2 separate regions of the Homo sapiens genome follow, and region 2 is linked to region 1. Evidence: promoter capture Hi-C in 16 types of primary human blood cells and fetal thymus (Javierre and others, 2016). All regions are on one chromosome and are shown on one strand. The core of a region is centred on a gene start or on the middle of the fragment in contact, and the rest is flanking DNA. Distances in the headings are between cores, read along the strand shown. Region 1 holds the start of DNAJC25 (DnaJ heat shock protein family (Hsp40) member C25). Region 2 holds the start of INIP (INTS3 and NABP interacting protein).

What was found. The method cuts DNA at HindIII sites, captures the fragments that hold promoters and counts their contacts. A CHiCAGO score of 5 or more calls a contact.
Region 2: a contact is called between the fragment with the promoter of INIP here and the fragment with the promoter of DNAJC25 in region 1, in 2 of 17 cell types (fetal thymus and naive CD4 T cells). The highest score is 6.6, in fetal thymus.

What each region holds. Positions count from the first base shown.
Region 1 is chr9:111,629,920-111,633,607 of GRCh38, reverse strand. DNAJC25 (DnaJ heat shock protein family (Hsp40) member C25) reads right to left here and starts at 2,274. Exons shown (of 4, transcript NM_001015882.3): 1 at 1,865-2,274. The coding sequence starts at 2,200. It overlaps DNAJC25-GNG10 (DNAJC25-GNG10 readthrough), which reads right to left and starts at 2,274. Exons shown (of 3, transcript NM_004125.4): 1 at 1,865-2,274. The coding sequence starts at 2,200. It overlaps LOC107987116 (a long non-coding RNA gene), which reads left to right and starts at 2,405. Exons shown (of 2, transcript XR_001746897.2): 1 at 2,405-2,568. RefSeq lists enhancers at 1,541-1,590, 2,321-2,410 and a silencer at 1,941-2,230. The HindIII fragment of the contact is 9,325 bases long and covers 1-3,688 here.
Region 2 is chr9:112,715,526-112,719,623 of GRCh38, reverse strand. It overlaps INIP (INTS3 and NABP interacting protein), which reads left to right and starts at 1,507. Exons shown (of 5, transcript NM_021218.3): 1 at 1,507-1,637; 2 at 3,083-3,163. The coding sequence starts at 3,139. RefSeq lists a silencer at 1,296-1,455 and an enhancer at 1,826-1,925. The HindIII fragment of the contact is 2,113 bases long and covers 1-2,084 here.

The DNA.
Region 1 (3,688 bases), core at 1,025-3,524:
CAACAGCTGGCAGTGTTTCTGCTGCCCTCTCTTCTGGAAGTTCTCCATCTTCCAGAAGATGGGTTGACACAGAGGGTAAGCGTCCACTTGTTTAACTTCCAAAGTCCATAAACTCCCTAAATCCCCAAAAGTCAAACACACTAAATACTATTGCATGGTCTTAGTTTATAAAGCAGTGTGTGAAATCATAATGGGATAACTGATATACAATCCAAATATCACTATCTTTAACCTAATTATCTATATCATCCTAACAACTACTGCATTCCTGACACTCAACCTAAATTCAAGCACCACAACCTTATTACCATCTCGCGCCTGAAACAAATTAACATGATTAACATCCCTAATCCTATCAATTTTACTATCCCTAGTAAATCCCATTATGATTTCACACACTGGTCCAGGGCTCCCTCACGCACCAGCAGGGCTTCTGGCTGACTACAAGGAACAGAGGTTGGAGCTTCATATGCTGAAGTGCCTTGGATGGAGAGTTCTTTCCTATTTTTTCTGGAGTCTTTTTTCCATCACTTTTTACATAATCGGCAACAAAGCCCTTTGGGGCCTCAGCACTTTCCCAGTTCCCCAGCCATCCCTCAGTTAACTGCCAATAAAAATTACAATCTCACTAACGCTAGTGAGAATTTAATGAACTAGGTAAATTAAATTTTACCTAGTTCAATTCACCTAGTTTACCTAGTTCAGGGCCCGCCCCTCCACCACTCATTTTATGACTCCAAATTATCCAAACTGCTCTGGAAGGCATCAATAAAGTTGTTAGCTCCTTGACTATTTTCAGCTCTGGAAAAACAATCTGGAGGAACAATCCAAGGTAAAATTATATCCACTCAAAGTACAATCATTAAAAGCAGGCTACCTGGCAACATAGAAAATTTTGCCTCGGGAAAAAAAAAAAAAGGCTAGAAAAGAAATACTTTACAACTACAATCGCTGACGCATTAGTATGATGGGGCCCTTCAAGCAGTAATACCACCATCAAGTACGATTTATACTTCGTGATGTCCTAGATGGTTTGATTTTTTGCAGTAGTAGAAGAAAACAGCATCGGGCTAAATCTCTCATCCCCACAAGACTCAATAAAACCTGTCAAATGAAATACAAATACATATTCACAAAATATTTCCTACTAGAAATTCTCAGAGTTTTGTACCCAAGTCATTAAGCACCTATTTATGGATCCTATGGAAAGGGGGGCGGTTCGCACACTTATCATTTAATCCCCATAATAACTCTGAGAGGAGGTATCATGGCCTTAATTTTGCATATGAAGAAACAGCTATTTCAACATAATAAGTCACTATCCAAGGTCATACAGGGGTGTCACAGCAAAGACTCACATCCAGCCTTTTGACTGGTGTTCATTGTTCTTCTCAGTGTTTTCTTAGTTCCTTAAACCCAAACTAAGCGTCACCATTAACACTATTTCCAGAAACCAATTTTCTGTCATATCAAACTGATGCGATCACAGTTGTCACTTGATATTCGAGACTTTCCCTGTTGTGGGCTACCCCAGATCCTACTAATAATGATCACCCTGCTTTTCGAATGTGAAATGCACGTTATTAAAATATTTTCACGAAATCGTAAGATGGCCAAAGTTTTGCATAACAATGTCACAAAAAGGAAGAGGGCAAGGAGGCTAGCTGTGCCCCCCAAGGCCCCGTGGGGCCGACTCGGCTCTTTCACAGGGCCACGTGGGAAACGTGAGTATCTTAAAGGTCGCGGTGGTGGCTGTGCTCAGTTTCGGGGTCACAGAGGCCCACGCTCCGCGGACCGGGGTCGGAAGGCGCCGTGGGCTTCCCGCGGCCAGTCTTCGAAGCCCCTCCACGCCCGCAGGCCTCACCTTGAGTGTCTCGTAGGCGGTTGCCACCAGCAGGAAAGCCTCCTCGGCGCTCTGCGGCGTCCGCCCGGGGCCCTCGTCTCCGGGCTGGGGCCGGTAGCGGTCAGGGTGGTAGCGCCGGGCCAGCTGGCGGTAGGCCCGCGCGATCTCCGCCTTGCCCGCCGAGCGGCTCACGCCCAGCACCTCGTAGCAGTCCCGCGTGCCGCAGTAGAGCCCCTCCACCAGGGCCCCCGCGGGCCGCACCAGCAGCAGCGCCGGCAGCAGGGGCGCCAGCAGCATCCACCAGCGCCGGCCGGCAGCCCCGGCTCCCCAGCCGGGAGAGAGCAGCGGCGCCCCCATCCCCAGCCTCGCTGGCGGCTCTGCCACCCCAGCGATTCTGCAGCACTCAGCCGCGCGCCCGGCTAGTCCCGTCTGGCCCCAGCTACACGTCAGCAGCCGACGCCTCCGCGCAGGCGCACAGGGCGCGGCTACAGCAACTACTTCCTTCGCAACCCGTTGGTAGGGAGAAGGACGCCTCAGCCACTAGGCTGCTTCCGGTGTGTCACTGAACACCTTCCCCGTACCAGCAGCTGGAGGATTTGTTTGGTAGCACCTGGGGGATGGCTCTGTCCCGGGCGCACTTAGGCGGGCTGTGCGGAGCGCTTTACCTTCCACAGTGTCCGGCACACGCATCCTTTTCGACATCATCACTTGACCTGCTGCAATAGGTAACCTACCTGGCTCTCTCGCATCCCGTTATCAGCGTCAAGAAGATTTGCACGTAGGCCTTTAAAGCCAGCCACCAGCCCCGGGCGCCTTCCTCTCACTAACCCCATGCTGCCTTTCCAAACGGAAGATGAACTTAGCAATTCTAGGCGCTGCCTGTGTACTAGGTAGGGACCCTGAAAGTTCATAGCCATCTAGTTCAGTTTTTCTCAGCCTCCACGCTATTGACATTTTAGACCAGATAATTCTTTGCCTTTGAGGGGCTGCCCTTTGCATTGTAAGATGTTTAGCAGCATATCTGGCCTCTCCACACTAAATGCCAGTAGTGCCACCACCCCCAGTCATGACAATAAAAAATCTCTGTACGCGGGTCTGTGCGTCCACCTTGGGCTGCGCGTTCCCGGGACAACCTGCTGGAAGGATCAAGCGATCCTTCCAAAATGCTAGGATTACAGGCGTGAGCCACCGTGCCCGGCCTACATTTGAATTTCAGATAATAATTTTTTAGTATAAGTATGTCCAAAATATTGCATGGGACTATATGGCAACATGAAAAACTTTGCCTCAAAAAATCTGTTTCTATCATTCATCTGGTAAATGTTTATTGAGTCTCTACTCTGAGCCGGGCACTGTTACTTAGGCACTGGGGATACAGTGGTGAGCAAAGTAAACAAGAAGCTCAACTTCAGAGAGCATATATTCTGATGGAGGATGACAGTCAGTAACAAATAAATAAACGTTCAGATATAATCAACTCTTTTAATAAAGTGAAATCAAATACTGATACATAGCATTATATACTTATAATACATAATGAATATACATTATAATTTTGTATTTCTCATTGAATAAATATATATCTCTCATTACATATATCTCCCTCATTACATATATAATATATATAATCTCATTACACATATATGTCTCTGTCATTACATATATAACATATATGTGTCTATTTTTCACCTCAGCCCACTAAATATTGCATGGGACTATATAGCAACATATACAGTTATATATGTAATGAGAGAGATACATGTATATGTAATGAGATACAAAAGTTATATATATAATAACAATTTTGTGTATCATATATGCTTATTTACATTTGTATCTCATATA
Region 2 (4,098 bases), core at 258-2,757, 1.1 Mb before region 1:
CTGGAACTTTCTGTGCCCTAGTTTCTATATTAGCTAGGCCACAAAACAAAAAAAAATTCTAAGGTTCTATCAGCCATATAGATCTCAGTCATCTTTTTAGTCATACTAGAACTCACCAAGTCCTCTTAACTGAAAGGACTCCTGGCCTACCATCAAAATGCTCATGTGTTAGGCTTTATATCTGGATTAAAGTCAAGTCAGCAAGAACTGGTCTCAGAGGAATTCATTCCTCCAGAGCAGAGGCAATGTGTGAGATTTAAGAACTCAGGCCTTAGCATCTGGCAGATCTTTAAATTTGAATCTTAGCTCGCTACTTGACATAGAGCAAGAAACATGAGTCTCAAATATAAATCAGGGAACAGCAGGACCAGAGCTGATGCACAGGAAGCACCTCGCATTGTAGAAGGCACTCAATAGCTGCTTGGTATAGAGTAAATACATGCTTGGTTTTCAGTAAATAAATACTTGATATTGAAACGATTATTTCAGTCATTGATCCATGCACAAGAAAATTGTGCATCATAAACATTTTACTCTTGAGCAAACATCAATTATTAAAAACATATGTTCAAATTCATTATCCATTCTATTTAATTAAATGCTTGAGGCGCTTGGGGAGCTTACATTTGTGATTTAAGTCTGTGCGTTTTTCAAATGTATCTTTCGGAAGAGATTAAGACACTGCAATTTTAAGCAGGGCAGGTGGCTCACGCCTGTAATCCCAGCACTTTGGGAGGCTGAGGTGGGCAGATCCCTTGAGGCCAGGAGTTCAAGACCAGCCTGGGCAACAAAGCGAGACACTGTCACCATAAAAAATATTTTTTTAAATTAAAAAGAGTGCAATTTGAACACATGTCAATATACGATTACCTTTTAATTCAAATGTGTAGCTATCTACTGTGCTGGAATCAGGTGGGCAGCAGGTGATCCCACTAGTGGCAACTTGGTGTTCTGCGATGTGGCACATCCACTTCTTAAATGCAGATTATTGCACTGTAATAAAAATCCTCCATATTCAGTGCTTTCATTGTGTATAATTATGTAAACTGTAGACAAAAAATATTCCTGAATTTGTGTGTGTGTGTGTGTGTGTGTGTGTGTGTGTGCGGATGCGCAATCCGAGATGGTTGTTAAAGCTCGAAAGCGAGTTTAGCTTCTAGAGTCGCCCCTCCTCCGAGGCCCAGCCGAGGTGGACTCGCACCGTCGCAAGACCGGCCAGGCGGTGGCAATGAATAAAAAGCCAGTCTTGGTGCTAGGGACCCAGGTGTTCTCCGTCCCGCCCCTGCCTGGCAGCCCCGCCCCTCCCCCGCCCCGGGCCACGCCCCACCCTGGCCCAGCCCCCAAAAGTACCGTTTGCATCTCCCGTGAGCCTCTTCGACTGTCACTCTTTGGAAAAAAAAGTGACGTCTGCACTGAGGTGGCCGCTAAAGTGCGAATCACGACGGGCGGTGGCCGTTGGGTCCCGGCGGGAGGCGGGGTTTCCGCTCCCTGGGGCGCACGTCAGTCAGGAGGCGGAAGCGCAGCGGGGGCGGGAAGGTTGTAGTGCCGCGAGTTGAGCTCCTCTTGCCTAAGTGGTCGCGCCCCCTTTAAGAGCAGCGATTGTAAGGAGAGGCGGTCCCGGTGTCCTCGGGTCCCAGGTAAGTACGACAGTCTGGAGGCACCGGGCAATAGAAAAGTGTGGCTCCGGTGCTAACCTGTCGCCGCCGTCTTTGTTGCTACAGGCAGCGACCTCCCTTCCGACCTTGCCACCTAACATTTCTGGCTCCTACTTGCTTCCTTCGTCTCGTTCACAGCCCGGGCCCAGCCGGCTCTGCACATCCGTAGGCAGGGACCTTTCTGGCACGCCAGTCTACCCTGTCACAAGATGGCCCTGTTGTCCTCCAGTCCTAACCCCGCATTGCTCGCTCTGTGTTTCAGCCGCTGGAGACACCTAACGATTCATTTACTAAAAACCGGTGTCTGTTTTCTATCCCTTGTGTCTTTCCCGGGCTCCCTAGACTAAGGCATCACTCTTTGCTGCCAATGAAATCAATTCTTTGCCTCCGGCACTGTGCCCACCTTTTAAAGAGCGGGTTTGTTAAGCTTTTTTTTTTTTTAATTAATAGTATGGTTGCTTGAATAAGACTTTATTTTCCCTTCTGAAAGCAGGATTAGGGTCTTGCTCATCTTGGATCTCCCCAGGATTTAGTACGAAAGCACGAAGTTTGGAAACCAGCAGCCCAAATAATTCCTACTAGCTCTATGACCCTGGGTACGGTTTCCTCATCTATAAAATGGTGATAAATAAATAAAGGAACTAATTTCGAGCATGTTACACAGTGTATGGTGCAGAGCAGATACAGTACTCCTTTACCTTTTTTAGCTTTCAGTGTACACAGTAGTTTTTGGGTATGTGTTTTAGACGAATGCAGAGACACCATAGATGAATGATTTTTCTTCCTAGCACCATGATTATATTGACTCTATCAATTGGTTGATATATTTGGTAAATACAACCTAATGACGTTTATTAAAGACAGTAATGCTAAATGGTATGAACATCTGCAAGAATAAACAATGCCGTATTTAATTAAATGCTTGAGGCACTAGCAGAGTTTACATTTGTTTCAGTCTGTGTACATTTCAAATGTATCTTTCTTTCTTTTCTTTTTTTTTTTTTTTGAGACCGAGTCTCGCTGTCTCGCTCTGTGGCCCAAACTGGAGTGCAGTGGCGCGATCTCGGCTCACTGCAACCTCCGCCACCCGGGTTCAAGTGATTCTCCCGTCTCGCCCTCCCGAGTAGCTGGGACTGCAGGCGCTTGCCACCACACCCGGCTGATTTTTTTTTTTAATTTTATTTTTAGTAGAGACTGGGTTTCACCATGTTAGCCAGGATGGTCTCGATCTGCTGACCTCGTGATCCGCCCGCCTCGGCCTCCCAAAGTGCTGGGATTACAGGCGTGAGCCACCGCGCCCGGCACAAATGTATCTTTCTGAAGAGATTAAGAAACAGCAAACATTTCATTGTAAGGAGGCTAGCTGTTCCTTTTAGTTTGTGATTAAAATATGGTGCATTGTATATGTGTGTACACATATTTTATAGGTGATTGTGAAGTGCTGACCAATTGCCACTGGACATACTTGAAACAAAATAGGAAAATGGCAGCAAACTCTTCAGGACAAGGTAATGACAGCAGGAATTTCTTTACTATGAACATTTCCCCAATATAGTAAATGTATTTGAATAAGAGAAAATTTAGCATAGGGCAGTTACTGTAGCCAGAATTTAAAAAATGAATAGCAGGCCGGGAGCGGTGGCTCACGCCTGTAATCCCAGTACTTTGGGAGGCCAAGTCGGGTGGACTGCTTGAGGTCAGGAACCCCGTCTCTACTAAAATACAAAAATTAGCTGGGCATGGTGGCGGGCACCTGTAATCCCAGCTACTAGGGAGGCTGAGGCAGGAGAATTTCTTGAACCCAGGAGGCGGAGGTTGCAGTGAGCCGAGATTGCACCACTGCACTGCAGCCTGGGCGACAGAGTGAGACTCCGTCTCAAAAAAAAGAAAAAGAAAAAAAGAAGAACATCAAAGTAAAACTCTAAATTTGAAATACACTTGTGCTGAATAATGATGTTTAGGTCAATGACAGACTGCTTATAGGATGGTGGTCCCATAAGATGGTAATGGAGCTGAAAAATTTCAATCGCCTAAGTGACATCTTGATAATCCTGACCCTGTGTAAGCCTAGGCTAATGTGTTTGTTTGTGTCTTCATTTTTAACAAGAAGTTTAAAAAGTAAAAAAAATTAAAAATTTTAAAAATAGAAAACTTTTAGAATAAAGATATAAATAAAATACTTTTTTTTTTTTTTTGAGATGGAATTTCGCTCTTGTTGCCCAGGCTGGAGTGCAATGGCATGATCTTGGCTCACTGCAACCTCTGCCTCCCAGGTTCAAGCAATCCTCCTGCCTCAACCTCCCGAGTAGCTGGGATTACAGGCACACGCCATCACGCTCAGCTAATTTTGTATTTTTAGTAGAGACTGGGTTTTTCCATGTTGGTCAGGCTGGTCTCAAACTCCTGACCTCAGGTGATCCGCCCGCCTTGGCCTCCCAAAGTG